Linked DNA regions of Homo sapiens: region 1 is linked to region 2. Evidence: promoter capture Hi-C in human tissues and cell types (Jung and others, 2019). All regions are on one chromosome and are shown on one strand. The core of a region is centred on a gene start or on the middle of the fragment in contact, and the rest is flanking DNA. Distances in the headings are between cores, read along the strand shown. Region 1 has its middle 150 kb from the start of LINC00261. Region 2 holds the start of FOXA2 (forkhead box A2).

Region 1 (7,315 bases), core at 928-3,427, 150 kb after region 2:
ATTGGCGGAGGTGTAGATAGCAGGAGCACTCTCAGCAGCTACCACTGGCCAGCCTGTGGCTGTTTAGATTCTGGCTTAGCACCCCTGGAGTGTGACGGTCAGGGCCACAAAAGCACTGGGGTAGGACTTAAGCTCCGAACTCCCTGCTTGTGATCATGCCGCCCAGACTAAAGTACAGTCCGTTTCCCTCATTCACTCTAGTTATGTTCTATGAAGTTGCTGCAAACACTGTATTAGCAACCCACTGCTCCTAAAGGAAATATAGAGTTAAGTTCCTGCAAGCCTCTGGTCACAACATTTCCACAATGGATCCATACATTGTATTATGAGTGTTTCCACTTACTTAAATAAGAAGACACCTTATTTCCTATATAGGGTTGATTCATTTACCATGAAGTCATAGCAAACAGCAGTTTGAAGAAAGCTTGTCTAACACATCTTGTTTTCTCTGTAAGGTGCATCCCAGCTTTCCCAGGCTTAGGGACAATAGCCAGTACTTCAGCACCATGTTTGAGGGCCATTTTCAATAGTAAAATTACCATTAAAAAGCACAAAAATGTAAAAAAAAAATCATGTCACTGAATGGACTACAGAAGAACACTCATATATAGTCTGAGAGCTAAAACAGGAAGGCAGAATGGGAGCTTGTTCCACCTCATCTGAGAATAGGTACTTTGGATGACTCAAATTTTTGCCACACTATGCATGTCTGTGAATGGGTGCAAAAAGGCATGAATGAAGATGTGGGGGTTCCAAACAAATTTTAGAGAATAGGTCAGAAATATGGAACTCATATTGAAAATAGACTTTACTAAAATATAGACATTAGAGCAGCGGGAAAGAGGGCTCAGAAACAGCTGTCAGAATACATGGTAACAGGTATGATTAACCTCTTGAATAATAAGAAAAATTCTATTAAGAACCTAACTTATATAACCTCACAGCACATGGTTTTTTAAAAATACGATTGCTAGATGACAGCGGTGATCAACTGGGTATTTTCTGAGCTAAGCAACAACTTTTGCATTCCTTTTTTTTCTGTTAACAGTACATATTCATTAAGAAATAAAGATTTACAGAATAAAGTATAGCATAGACAGTGGATATTTCCCTGATCCCAACCCCAGAGGTGACCATAACTGACTGACTGGAGAATTTGCTTTCAGAATGTTTTCCATGGATAGCCCTATGTGATTATTATTTTATAAAATGGGGATGTTTCTCTATGGTTCTTTATTCACTTAAAATATCATGGAGAATTTTCTATTTTAGGCTAAGTGCATGAATCTTGGTACTTTTAGCAGATATCTAGCATATGAAATAGTTTATCTCAACGATCCTCTTTGGAAGGGCATTTGTGGTGTTTCAAGAAAGTCTGGAACATTGCTCTCTCATATAAAACTGCAATGACTGTGGTTGAACAGATCTTTGCAAAATTGCATGTTTTTCAATAGAAGGAACACACAGAAGTAGAATTACTAAGTGAAAAGGATATGACCATTTGAATATTACTAGTTAGTTTTAAAAAAAAAGTTTTTATCCATTTTGCTGTATTCAAATTCTGCTAGCCACTAAATACTCTCTAGTTTGAGTGTATTTCAAGTTTGAGGAATATTTTCAGAAACTTCAGGCACCCATCCCAGTGGTCAGAGGGCAATGTGTCCCCGTTACGGTTGCATCCAGAGTCCTGAGGACAGCCCCCTGGGTTGTTAGAGGACAGACCACCTGGCATATACTTGACCTCTCTGTGCCTTGATTGCCTAAAGTGGAAATGATAACATCCACTTCCAAGATTGTTGGGAGGATTAACATGAACGTGGAAGATTGGAAGTGCTTAGAGCATAGCCCACAGGAAGCATAGAGATTAAAGTGTCATTCTTTCACTGTTATCTCAAGTAACTAACAAGAATTCACTTTTACAGAAAAATATTGTTCTATTTCTAACTTGGTTTCATCTGCTAGACCACTAAGAGTTGGTAGAAGGATATCAGTCTTGCTCTCAGCTTTGCAGGCTGGCCCCAGTGACAACTGTGCAGGAATAGGAATATACCTTTGATTCTTGTTCTCTCTTTGAGTTACTCTCTGCCCTCTTCTTGGAACACCCTACCTTCCTCCCTAGCACTCTCCACCCTGTATCCTGATCAATTTCTTCTTAAATACTCCTTCAAGCCTTATTTCAATGCAATGCAGGAGTGGGGATGTACAGATGCCATCTAGATTCAAAGCACGAAGTTATAATAGGGTTATTGGGGTGGTGAAGATACTATGTGGTGGTCCTACTCAAAGCCCCCTCAATTTCAAGACGCAGCTTTCCTCCATGCATCTGAACCCAAGGAGGGTGACTATTAGAATTTGGTCAGCTTCAGGGCCCACATAGGCTGTCTTCAGCCATCTTTCCATAAATTACACTGATTTCTGCTTTCTCTTAATAAATCCTGCTGCTTCATAACAAACAGTAAAACCTGGTTTCTGAGTAAATGTTTGAAATATTTATTTTCTAAAGACAAATTGCAGGCATAAATGCATCTTCTTACCATTCCTTCCCCTCACTTTTGCAGCAGCTAAGCCAGCTCCATCTCCCTTTGTTTTGTATTCAAAGCACAAGAATAGTGTCCATGAATATCAGCTCAAAGAGACTGAAGGGATTTTAGGTGGAATATCTTAACCCCAGGAGTGTGGCCCACGCCAGGGTGGTCACAATGTTTGTTTAGTAGGTTGGGCTGGGGGTTGAAAACCAGAGACTAAAATGCTATAACGGCCTGGATTTGAGGGGTTGAAAATATTTCACATTTGGTACAGGCACCAGGAAACTACTTATTTTGCTTGAATGTCTTATTGTTCATTTGGTCAAGTGGGGTTAGGATTCAGGACATACTGGGGAGATAATTTTTATGCATCGATTTGAAATTGCCTCCAACAGCTCATAATACCAGCTGCATGATACTACATCCTGCACCCTACTCATGCCAGAGGAATAGACGGCTCCCTTAACACACCTGCCTTTCTTTCCTGGCTTTATTTTATTCACCAAGATAAGTAGGAAAGCAGATAGATTAGATAGATAGATAGATAGATAGATAGATAGATAGATAGATAGATAGATAAATAGATAGATAGATAATCAGATGGATAAATAAACATATAGATCAATGGATTGATAGATAAAATAGAAACATATTAGAAGATTTTTTAAAAATTTTTTATTTATAAGAACAAGACACCCTGAGTTATTCCTGTAAAGTTCAGAATGGGCAGAGAGTATCTCATTCTTAAATAAGAGAAGGGAGCTGAGAAACTTCTGTGCAGTAAAATGACTGTTGGTACTAAGACCTATGGATAATTTTTAAAGCATAGTAAGCTAACAAAAAAGTTATAAGAAACTGTTTGGAGGGATTTAAAATTTCAGGATTTTAGATACAAGAGAAGTATAGCCCCTGCCCCGAATGCTTTTATCAGGGCTTTCCAAGAGGAGCAGGCCAACCAAAGCTCCCTTAAAGCCAGCATCTGCCTCCAAAATCCGCCTGGAGTTTCAGCCAGCCTCTGCCACCAAAAGGAGCCAGGGTGGCGTGCACAGCTCTCATAAAAAGGTGCCAATCTGGGGTTTGGCCCGGACTAAATCCGACTGAGATAGAAAGCAGTGACCCTGTAATTGGACGACTTCCCCTGTGTCCAGACCACCATAGAGACTGCTGGGCTGCACAAGCTTCCCGGATCGCAGTTCACCAGGGGTCACCTTCATGCTGTGAGAACAAAGTCCGACTGAGCCCAGGGCCCCAGCTGCATGGTTCTGCTGTGTAAACACAGCGCAGACAACAGGACGACCAAATGTTAGGGTCCCTGTGTGATCCATTGTTGGATTATAGACATGGCCATAGACTCCGTTTCCAACTGCCCCTACTTCTCTCTTGTCTTTCTGTCTCCTCTTCTACCTCATTTGTTGGCTTCTAAACATCCTCTAACAGGACAAATCTTTGGCTGTTTTGCCTTTTTTGTTTTCCAAGCCAGGGTTCCCACTGCACCCCAAACAAGCCCAGTACTTTTAACAGGCACGGCCTCAGCAGAGGTGGCCCCACTGAGGCCTGCATGGTCACACGATGAATATTTTCTCATTTGTCCCCATGAACAAAACTTGCTTAAAATCAGGTGTGGGAGGAGGAGGTTAGGAAAAGGGCTGCCTCTCCTCTTCCTTTTAATCAACCAACTCATCTTTAACTGCCGCCATTCCCGTCCTCTCTGCCAGGCCCCGGCTAATAGAAACTCGGAATGCAGGTTCATACCCCTGCTCTTAGGTGTTCGAGGATGCACTCTGGGAAGCGCCGCTGCATCCATCACTGTCGGTGGCTACTTGAGAAACGCCGTGATGGACTGGCCCGGCAAAGCCCCTCCCCACTGCCCGCAGGCTGCAATTCAATTAGTCATGGTCAGAGGGAGGCATTATTATTCATACACCAACGATTGTTCCCAAAGTAAACAGAGCTGGGATGAGGTCTCTGATCCTCCCAGTGCCTTTAGCTGGGACACAAAAGAAAAAAAACTCCAGAGACACTGGGGTGGGACATTTGATCTGAATTCTGATCTCCTTTGCAAGCTTCCCCATCAAATCTTGTTGATTTCTTTCTTTGCTTCTTTCTTTTTTCACAGTCTTCACAGATAAGTGCCCTGTGTGTGCATACGCAAACCCAGCAGGGCCATTTTATTCCTTTATTGCCAACAATGCCAGAAAGTCTCTTCCACCCAGGACACCCCCCACCACTTTATAATAGGGACATGGATCCCTTAACTGGAGTGAATGATCCTGTTAGAATATAACAGACCAATAACTTCCTAATTCACAATAAATAATCCCTGTAAAAATAAAGGATGACATTTGTATTTTGTAAAGTGCTAACCAAATTGCCCGTGGCCTGGCCAGCCCCCATCTGTTTATCAGTTTTGCTGAGTACAAGTGAACCCAAGATAAATGCCAGTTTTCCTTGGATAAATTTTACAGCCAAGCAGAAACTGCCAAAGCACACAGGAGAGGTAAAAGCAGAGCTGTGTTCTCATTGACAGAAAAGTCAATTTTGCAGGATGGACTTAGGCAAGAGCCTGTGACCCCCGCCCCAACTCAAGTTTGTATGTTTATAATAGGGCTGTTTTCTCTGGGAGGGAATGAGCCAACTCCGGGAGCTGAAAGTTCAATGGAGCAGGCTGGCTGGGGCTTCCCAGCTGCAGGGGGAAGAAACAGCCCTGCCTGCTCACTCTGTTTTGCAGGAGTGAGCGTCATGCACCCTGGCCCAGACAGGGTGATAAACTTGGGGTGTCTGGATAACCCACATGCTCATTTTCACTTTCGCTGCATCTGACCCTCTGAGGATCACTGCACTGGGACACTTGACCAAGCCATGCGTTTAGACACAACACCTTAGCACCTCATTCTGCTCCGGAGAGCCTCAGAGCGTCCAGCTGATATGACGGAAACCCCTTGTGCAGAGTCACCTAGAGCCTTTAAGAAACATGAATTCTCAGGCCTGACCCCAGACCACTGAACCAGAATCTCTGGGGGCCAGGGCCTTGTCATTTGTGATTCACAACAAATCACTATGGGAGGCTGTCCAGACCCCCCTTTAAAGAAAGACTTTAAGGAATAAATCTCAGCTGCTAAGAGTTTCACTGGCAGACAGTTTTCACTATCAGCCCCTTCAGAAATGGGTCAGCTGTGGAGAGCCACCTGGAGCCCGTGCTCAGGCCCCTTTGGGCAGGTCATCCAGTGGCTGATAAATGGATGTGCACATAGGCTCTGTAGCTTGGCCCCACTCAGGACTACTCTGAAGGAACAATCCACTTCAGAATGCCCAGTAGTATCCACTGTGGCTCCCTTCCACAGATATTGGTCCCAGAGCCTCTCCTGAATAAATATCCTGCAAGTTAAACTCCATCTCAGAGGGAGAACCTTATTGCCAGGCTTGGAGAATGATGATCTAGAAAACACTGTTCTTGTCCAACACTCAACCCATCCATAAATTCTCTCCATAATATCACAAACAGCTGGGCACCTAGCCCCAGCCTGGCAAGCCAGAGGAAAGAATCCATCAGCTTCTGATCCAGTCCCTCTGGACAACACTGGGAGGAATAAGTTGGGCCCCTTAATTCTCTTGCTTTCCATAGAAAATTGAAGAGCCCTGGAGTTCTACTGCTGGCTCCACTATTAGAGATGGGTTGAATGATTCAAATTACTTGGCCTCTGTTTTTCCTCTGTAGAAATACAGAAATGGTGAGGGATTTTGGAGACAGAATGAAAAAACAATTACCTCCTAGACTTTTTCCTGTTCTACCATCGGTGACCCATGGAAAGAAGAAAGGGAGGGAGGACCGGAAGGAAGCAATGTGCTGAAGACCTGCTCCTCTCATCAAGAGGTGGCATCAACTTCCCTCCCATGGAACAGGGCTGGGTTTAGTGACTCACTTCTAATGAGTAGGATGGGGCAGAAGTGGCGCTGCATGACTTCCAAGGCTAGATTGTAAAAGGCAATACAGTTTCCACCTGGTGCTCTCTCTTAGGACACACACTTCAAAAGATTTGAGCCCCCAGGTAAGAGACCATATGGGGAGACCACATAGAGACAGGGAGGCCCAAGGAGGCCAGCTGTTTGAGTCTTCTGTGAGCTAACACCAGCCCCAGTCACTGTCCAACTGTTCCTACATGAGAGACCCTGAGTGAGAACTGCCCGGCTAAACTTAGTCAACTTGCAGAATCATGATCAATAATAATAATAAACGGTTTGTGTGGTTTTACAGTAAACTTGGGGTGGTTATTACATAGCAATAGTTGAGCTGGGGTGAATAAGAGATCTTAAAGCAGAGATCCATATTTATTCATAACATTGAGAATAACTTGACAAATATACATACCCACATATTTATGTGTGTGTGTATGCATATATATGTATATATATATAAAATTTGGAAGAAGGTAAACCTGGTTCTAAAACTACTCAAACAAAACAAACTCAAGTTGTAGTCATGAGATTTTTCTCACAGGCCTCAGTGAGGACAGGTCAAGCACTGATGAGGCAGAGACTGGGCCTTTGTCCACACGCCAATGACTGGCCTACCTCGTCTGTCTAAAGATATTTAAGAGCTGTAATAACCAAGCAGATGTCACATCTACATGCTCAGCATATGCACTCATCTCCACAGGGATGCCAGTGATGCTCACTGGAGCCTGTTTTCTCCATTTGACATAGTTGTTCTAGGCCAGGCACAGTGGCTCACACCTGTAATCCCAGCACTTTGGGAGGCCGAGGCCGGTGGATCACCTGAGGTCTGGAGTTTG
Region 2 (7,630 bases), core at 3,997-6,496:
ATGCCTGGGTTTGGATTCTCCAGGTAGTCTATGACTGACGCCCCATGACTCTTGTCCTTCATGAAGCTTACTGCTTGCCTGTTTGGCAGGAATAACTGAGATTTCTCCCAAGAATAACATCCAAATGTATGAAATAGCTCCCAGGGCCACAAATGCAGATGCATCTAATTTAAGCATCCCTCAAAGAGAAGTTTATTCTCACTCAGGTTGGCATGTTGTTATTGCTACTAAAACTTGTCATTTTTTATTTTTATCTCTTCCAATTATTTTAATTACCTGCTATAATAGTCCCACATACCAGAAATGTGCTAAAAACACAAGAATGGTGAACAGGTTGTCAAATATATACCAGAAATATTTGTCAAACCCTGGCCCAGAATGGGCAGAGCACTGGCTTTCTTCACAGACCTCCACAGATGGGAGTGGAATCCGCAACTGCTCAATCCATCCACTGAGAAGTCCCATAAAAGATGGACAATCCATAACTGAAACCCAACCTTCGGCACAACGATCAAATTCTACATGCATAAAGCAAGAGATCTGTGTGCCAGATCCATCTTAAAGGCACCCCACCCAGAGGACAGAGTCTGTCTCCTTCCCCTAAACAATATGCAGAAACCACCCTGGTAAGTCAATACCTGTGGTTGACATGAATATTTCTTCTCTTCCTCTCTCAACTCAGGGAAAATCACAGTTCATCCCCTGATACCAGTAAGACAAAATAATAATGCCTTGTTTTTCAGAACTCAAACCTGTCGTCAGTTTGTATGGTGGCTTCTCTGATCTCCTTTCAAGGATGAGAACTGAATGAATATTTGCACAAGTTATTTTGCCAAAGTTTCCTTAACATCAGATCCAATATCCTTATTACATATTTCACCATAAAATAGTAAAAGAGAATGTAATAATAAAGTAGTGATATAAAATGATACCACCCATACTTCTAAAAACATAGATTGAAGATATAATTCTACCACCCAAACATAATCAAGGTTACTAACATCGTATTTATTTAATTCATTTTATTTTCTCATTTTAAAAATGTATGTTTCATCTTTTCCTGTGGATCTTGCGGTGGAGAGATAAATTGCATGCAGGTGCACACAGTATTAAACTTAAAATGTTGCACCTTGCCTCCCCCTTTATCAGCATTTTCCTGAGCCTTTGCTGAAGGCTGCAACATGCTGAATTTTTTTATTCTTTTACATAAATACCCTCTGATAAGGTGTTCTTAGCTAATGACCTTTTCAATTGCCCTCTCCGTAAACAACTGGTCTTTTGACCATCCAAGAACTTTGAAAGCCAACATAAGTGTTTGAAGGTGTGCTCAGTGCCAAGTAGACAAATTTTGATGGTCTAATTTTTTTTTTTTTTTTTTTTTTGAGATTGAGTTTTGCTCTTGTTGCCCAGGCTGGAGTGCAATGGTGCGATCTCAGCTTACTGCAACCTCTGCCTCCCGGGTTCAAGCGATTCTCCTGCCTCAGCCCCCGAAGTAGCTGGGATTATAGGCATGGGCCACCACATCCTGTTAATTTCGTATTTTTAATAAAGATGGGTTTTCACCATGTTTGTCAGGCTGGTCTTGAACTCCTGACCTAAGGTGATCCGCCCGCCCCGGCCTCCCAAAGTGCTGGGATTACAGGCATGAGCCATTGCGCCTGGCTGATTTTTCAGTACATTTCAGAAATAATAACCCACCCAAAGAAAGTGAAATGTTGATTATAATCTTTGACACACGATATGCCTTTTCTTCATTGAGACTTGAGATTCATCCAGAGAATGAATAAGGGGTGTTTGGACATCTGCTTTTTTACCAATTAAAAAGTTTATAAGAAAGTAAAAATGCATACTTTCCCAAGACTGTGCTGTCACTTTTCCATCCCCTCTGCCTTCATCTTGCCTACATATCTGCCTTATGTTGCCCTAAACACGCTGGGGAACTTTGAGCAAGGCCTTGCCTGGGTATTTATTCTCTGAAAGGTTTTAGGAATTGGAGTATTAATGGGACTTTTATTGTTTTTCTCCTTAGGTATTTCATGGGTTCTCACTTAGGAAAATTGAGTTCTGTTCAATGATGCCCCTTCTGCACTGGTTGGTTTCATGTGACAAAGAGAGCTCTAGGGAGGACTTTTGCTAGGGGAACGCAGATTGTTCCAGCAAGATGAAGGCCTAGGAGACCTGGATGGCCTGGGTGTTTTCTTCCCAGGGAGAGCAGAGGAGGCCTGGATTTGAACTCGAGTCTTATGACTTTGCCATTGAGGCAACATCCAAAATAAAAATAGCATGCTAACCCCAAGCACAGTCCTCAGTTATAAAGCAGCTTTATTATAGAAGCCGGCGGTGACCTAACAAAATGGAAAGGGAAGGGCTCTGTAGGTCTCGGCCCTACATGAGGGTAGACTAAAGAGGGATTGGGAGAAACATCTGCAGCCCGAGGTCCCCGCGAACTTTTTCCTGGAGAGAAACTCCGGGAGCAATCTTCAGCATTCAAGCCTGAGCCAGAACTCTGGATAGCCCTTTAGAAATCAGAACTCCGGGAAGGAGGAGCTCCAAAGACCGCTGAGCTGGAAGGGAACGCGAACCCCAGGCTGTCTGAACGTCCCTGCTTCCTTCGCAGCCCGTTGGTGTCCCGCTCCCAGCTACCTAAAGCTAACCGTAGACCCCGCTCGCATTCCCATGGGCAGGCGTGCCGGGAGGGTGCGGGAGCGGCTGCTCCGAGACTCTAGGAGGCGTCATCCAGCCCTACCCTACCGGAGCTCCCAGAACCTCGCCAGGGTGCAGGAGGCCGTTTTGGGTTCGCGCAGAACCTAGGGGTTGGGGCTCCAAAAAGGCCGAGTCCCCCCGAAGGCGTTTTCGGAGAGACTGGGAGAGCGGGGGAGAAGGTGCTCCGGTGCCGGAGCTGCGGGGTTGGGATCGCGGGGGTAAATGAGGACTCGGGTCGGTCCCGCGGGCCTGGCGGCCGACAGGGGGCGCCCTGTCACTGTGGAAGCCCCCGCCGAGCGCTCTCTGGTGTCCCTGACCCCGGCCACCAATAGTGCTGTGGTGGAGGTGGGGGCTTCCAAAGTCCGCTCCTTGGAAGTGTAGCGCCCCCTTCTCCTGCGGCCCTCCAGCTCGCTCCTTCTGTTCCTGGAATAATTTCTGGGACCAAATTTCCACCCAGGAGCAAAATAGAAAGGGAAGTGGGCACCCACATAAGCTCACAAATACTCTCATACAGCACACGCACAGACTAGGTCAACCATAACATTCTTTTGAGTTTTGGGGGTGCGGTGTGTGTGTGTGTGCGTGTGTGTCTGCCCAGGCCTGCGGAGAAAGCTTTGAAAAATTGCTCATTCTTTGAGCTCCAATGCTTACTCCTCTTTCCCTGCCCTCGGTGGAGTGATGAAGTTGCTCCCATCCACGCGCTAGGTGGGACCCCGTGGGAAATGCTGGGGATCTAGCCCCTCTGACTCCGCTGCGCACACCTCCACGTTCACTACGTAGCCGTACACACCATCAAGCTCCTTCCCTGGCGCACCGGGCTGGCCTGCCCCTCGTGGGAGCCTTCAGCACTCGGGGGACCGATAGGCACGGCTTCCGCGGAGATACAGACCTTGAATTTGTGGGAGAATCCCGCCCTGGCGCTCACTCGGCGGGCTTATTAATGCCCTCTTTATGAAGTGTCCAAACCATCTGCATTTCAGCAGCAAAAGATGCTGCCGGCGGCTTCCTTCTGTGTCCCAAACCGTGCAGACCTGAGAGTCCTGGGGTTAGGGAAGTGGTTCCCCTGTGCCTACTGCTACCTCCTCGCTTGCCTTCCAGCCTCACCCTTACTCAAGCTTCAATGCGAAGCTCCGTGTCTGCCATCTCGCCTGTCTTCTGCCACCATCGCCCCCAATTTTGGACAGGTGGGCTGGATGCCCACTAGTTCCTATGCATTCTCTGTGTCTGAGGGGGTGGGTACAGGGCTGGATCCCCAAGGTCCAGCCAGGTTTTCAGAACCAAGAAAGAGCCTCCACATCCAAACACCTGCAATATCCCCCCACTCCAAATCTGGGCTCACAGGCTAACCCAGAACAGAAGACAATTTTTGAACCCAAGAGCTGCTGGGGAAATAAAAGTATACGATTGCTGGAGTTTCTAATTTCTATTAAGCAGTCCCTCTGGAAGACAGAGAGGACAGAGACGCTCTTGAAGTCAACTCCATATGCCCCATCATTGATTCCTGGATTCTTCTCTCCTCACCCCTCCCTCCCCACCTCCTGCCCTGTTTGTTTTAGTTACGAAATGCTGTGGGCACCTCGGTTGTGACTGAAAAGTAACCTTGAAACACGCCGGCCTGAATATCAGAGACAAATCTCAGCCTCCCAACCGTCGGCCGCTGCTAGAGGGGCTGCTTGCGCCAGGCGCCGGCCGCCCCACTGCGGGTCCCTGGCGGCCGGTGTCTGAGGAGTCGGAGAGCCGAGGCGGCCAGACCGTGCGCCCCGCGCTTCTCCCGAGGCCGTTCCGGGTCTGAACTGTAACAGGGAGGGGCCTCGCAGGAGCAGCAGCGGGCGAGTTAAAGGTGTGTACGTAGTTTTTCTAAATAGGACAGCGCTTTGCAAATTGGCTGTCATGGACTTGCTGTTTTGACAGAGAATGAGCACTGAGAGCGAAGAAACCCGGCATAAATAAATCCGGCTTTCATAGGGATCTGCCGGGCACTGAGGCTGGACGCGCCCTCCGACAGGCGCACCGGGCGCCCGGCGCGATGAGACGGGGCGGGGGCTGGAGGCCGGAGCCGCCCCAGAGGGTGGTTTCCTCCCAGGTCCCTCCTTCCTCAGGGGACTCGCTGTGGACCCGGGAGGAAAGGGGGCTCGACCAGGGATCCCGCGTGCCCGATCGCCCGCCCAGCCCGCTCCCCTGGCCCGCCCAGGAGTGCGGGGCGCCGCGGCGGTGGGGCGGACGGCAGGCGCTGAGGGGCAGGTGCGGAGCGCCGGCTGCGGCTACCTCTCACCTAGGTGTGAGCTGATTATTCAAATGGGCTGCCCCGGGTCTGGGGATTGGAGGCCCGCGCCAGCGCGCCGCGCTATATCACCAGCCTCCCACGTCACTGCGGCACTTGTCCGCTCCGCGGTCCACACCTCCTCCTCCTCCTCCTCCTCCTCCTCCTCCTCCTCCTCCTCCACCACCACCACCGCCTCCTCCTCCTCCTTCCTCCTCCTCCTCCCCACCCCCCCACTAGCCCCCGCGCCGCGCGCTTCCCGCCGCCTCGGGGCAGCTCGGCACTGCCAACCTCAGCCGCCACCCGGCAGCCCGTGAGCGCGGCGGCGGCGGGTGCTCCCTACCGCGGGGCGCTGGCCTGGGCCTCCTCCGCTCCTCGCCCCCCCCCACCTCCCGCCCACTTCCAACTACCGCCTCCGGCCTGCCCAGGGAGAGAGAGGGAGTGGAGCCCAGGGAGAGGGAGCGCGAGAGAGGGAGGGAGGAGGGGACGGTGCTTTGGCTGACTTTTTTTTAAAAGAGGGTGGGGGTGGGGGGTGATTGCTGGTCGTTTGTTGTGGCTGTTAAATTTTAAACTGCCATGCACTCGGCTTCCAGTATGCTGGGAGCGGTGAAGATGGAAGGGCACGAGCCGTCCGACTGGAGCAGCTACTATGCAGAGCCCGAGGTAAGCGCTCGTCTTTTCCAGGGGGAAGTGGAGCGGCGGCGCTCGCTCCTTCCCCAACCTCAGGACCGCTTCCCTCGCTGGCACCCCCCCACCCCGCCCCACAACCCCAGCCTTTCTGGGCAGCCGCCTTTTCCGCCCTCCTTGGAATCAAATGGGTCTCTTTTTTATACGACACACTGTTAGCCTTGAGATAATATTAACTTTGTGATCAAATATTGACTTGCGGCGCCTCCAAATCCTCTTCGTGGCCGAGCCACGCACTATCCTAACAGAGTTATGTTTGGCAGCGCGCGGCTGGGGAGGGGTGGGAGGTCGGCCGGCGAGGGGGTGGGGAGCTGAGGAGGAGAAGATGGGTAGGAGTTGGGGGCTGAAGTGGAGGCAGAGTCAAAGACTAGTGGACAAAGAGAAAGAAAGTTTTTGCCTGCAAAGCTCAGCCGCGTGTGGTTCAGGTCTCGGTTCTTTCCCTATTGCCCCGTTCAGTGCCTCCAGCCGCCCCCGCACTCCGCACAGGCACTGCCTTGCAGTTTCCCTGGGACAAGGGAGGGGGTCCCTGGAGGGAGACCGGACAGAGGGGGCCCGGGACAGTCTTCGCTGGAGGCAGCCCGAGGCGCCCCGCGCGTTGTCCCGCAGGTTGCTTGCTGCGACCGGAGGTGGCGTCCGGGGACTTCGGGCCTCGGCGCCAGCTCAGTATGCTGGTGGGAGAGTTTGGGGAGACTCTGGGGTAGGGGAATGTATTTGGGGTGCTGGCTTGGGAGTACTCCATGGGACCCCTGTTCTAGAATCTGGGCGAGGTGGAGAAGGGCTAGGAACGGGCCACATGCCCAAGCAGCAATCCGCTCGCCACCTTCCCAAGGGCGATCGATCATGACTCTCCCTGAATGAAACAGACTCGGAGTCCGGAGACTGGGCCATCGGGGACGAAAGGGCTCCCCGGAGGCCTCCCCGGACGCGGAGGCCTGGGCGGTGGGTGGGAGGTCTGGGCACCCTCCAGCCGCGGTGCTAACGCTGTCGCCTCCCTCCCGGGGCTCTGTCCGCAGGGCTACTCCTCCGTGAGCAACATGAACGCCGGCCTGGGGATGAACGGCATGAACACGTACATGAGCATGTCGGCGGCCGCCATGGGCAGCGGCTCGGGCAACATGAGCGCGGGCTCCATGAACATGTCGTCGTACGTGGGCGCTGGCATGAGCCCGTCCCTGGCGGGGATGTCCCCCGGCGCGGGCGCCATGGCGGGCATGGGCGGCTCGGCCGGGGCGGCCGGCGTGGCGGGCATGGGGCCGCACTTGAGTCCCAGCCTGAGCCCGCTCGGGGGGCAGGCGGCCGGGGCCATGGGCGGCCTGGCCCCCTACGCCAACATGAACTCCATGAGCCCCATGTACGGGCAGGCGGGCCTGAGCCGCGCCCGCGACCCCAAGACCTACAGGCGCAGCTACACGCACGCAAAGCCGCCCTACTCGTACATCTCGCTCATCACCATGGCCATCCAGCAGAGCCCCAACAAGATGCTGACGCTGAGCGAGATCTACCAGTGGATCATGGACCTCTTCCCCTTCTACCGGCAGAACCAGCAGCGCTGGCAGAACTCCATCCGCCACTCGCTCTCCTTCAACGACTGTTTCCTGAAGGTGCCCCGCTCGCCCGACAAGCCCGGCAAGGGCTCCTTCTGGACCCTGCACCCTGACTCGGGCAACATGTTCGAGAACGGCTGCTACCTGCGCCGCCAGAAGCGCTTCAAGTGCGAGAAGCAGCTGGCGCTGAAGGAGGCCGCAGGCGCCGCCGGCAGCGGCAAGAAGGCGGCCGCCGGAGCCCAGGCCTCACAGGCTCAACTCGGGGAGGCCGCCGGGCCGGCCTCCGAGACTCCGGCGGGCACCGAGTCGCCTCACTCGAGCGCCTCCCCGTGCCAGGAGCACAAGCGAGGGGGCCTGGGAGAGCTGAAGGGGACGCCGGCTGCGGCGCTGAGCCCCCCAGAGCCGGCGCCCTCTCCCGGGCAGCAGCAGCAGGCCG

Evidence for each region. The method cuts DNA at HindIII sites, captures the fragments that hold promoters and counts their contacts. A contact is called where the count stands out against the background at its distance.
Region 1: a contact is called between a fragment that was not itself captured here and the fragment with the promoter of FOXA2 in region 2, in 1 of the 25 tissues and cell types used here (thymus).

Annotation. Positions count from the first base shown.
Region 1 is chr20:22,427,365-22,434,679 of GRCh38, reverse strand. No RefSeq gene overlaps it. Among named protein-coding and RNA genes, the nearest start is that of LINC00261, 150 kb to the left of the region's middle. RefSeq lists a cis regulatory region at 3,790-3,801 and an enhancer at 3,724-3,868. The HindIII fragment of the contact is 3,938 bases long and covers 209-4,146 here.
Region 2 is chr20:22,582,188-22,589,817 of GRCh38, reverse strand. FOXA2 (forkhead box A2) reads left to right here and starts at 5,246. Exons shown (of 2, transcript NM_021784.5): 1 at 5,246-5,626; 2 at 6,664-7,630. The coding sequence starts at 5,540. LNCNEF (lncRNA neighboring enhancer of FOXA2) reads left to right here. Exons shown (of 3, transcript NR_109883.1): 2 at 407-626; 3 at 2,030-2,296. RefSeq lists enhancers at 2,195-2,949, 2,950-3,705, 4,461-5,216, 6,641-7,213, 7,214-7,630. The HindIII fragment of the contact is 10,630 bases long and covers 3,568-7,630 here.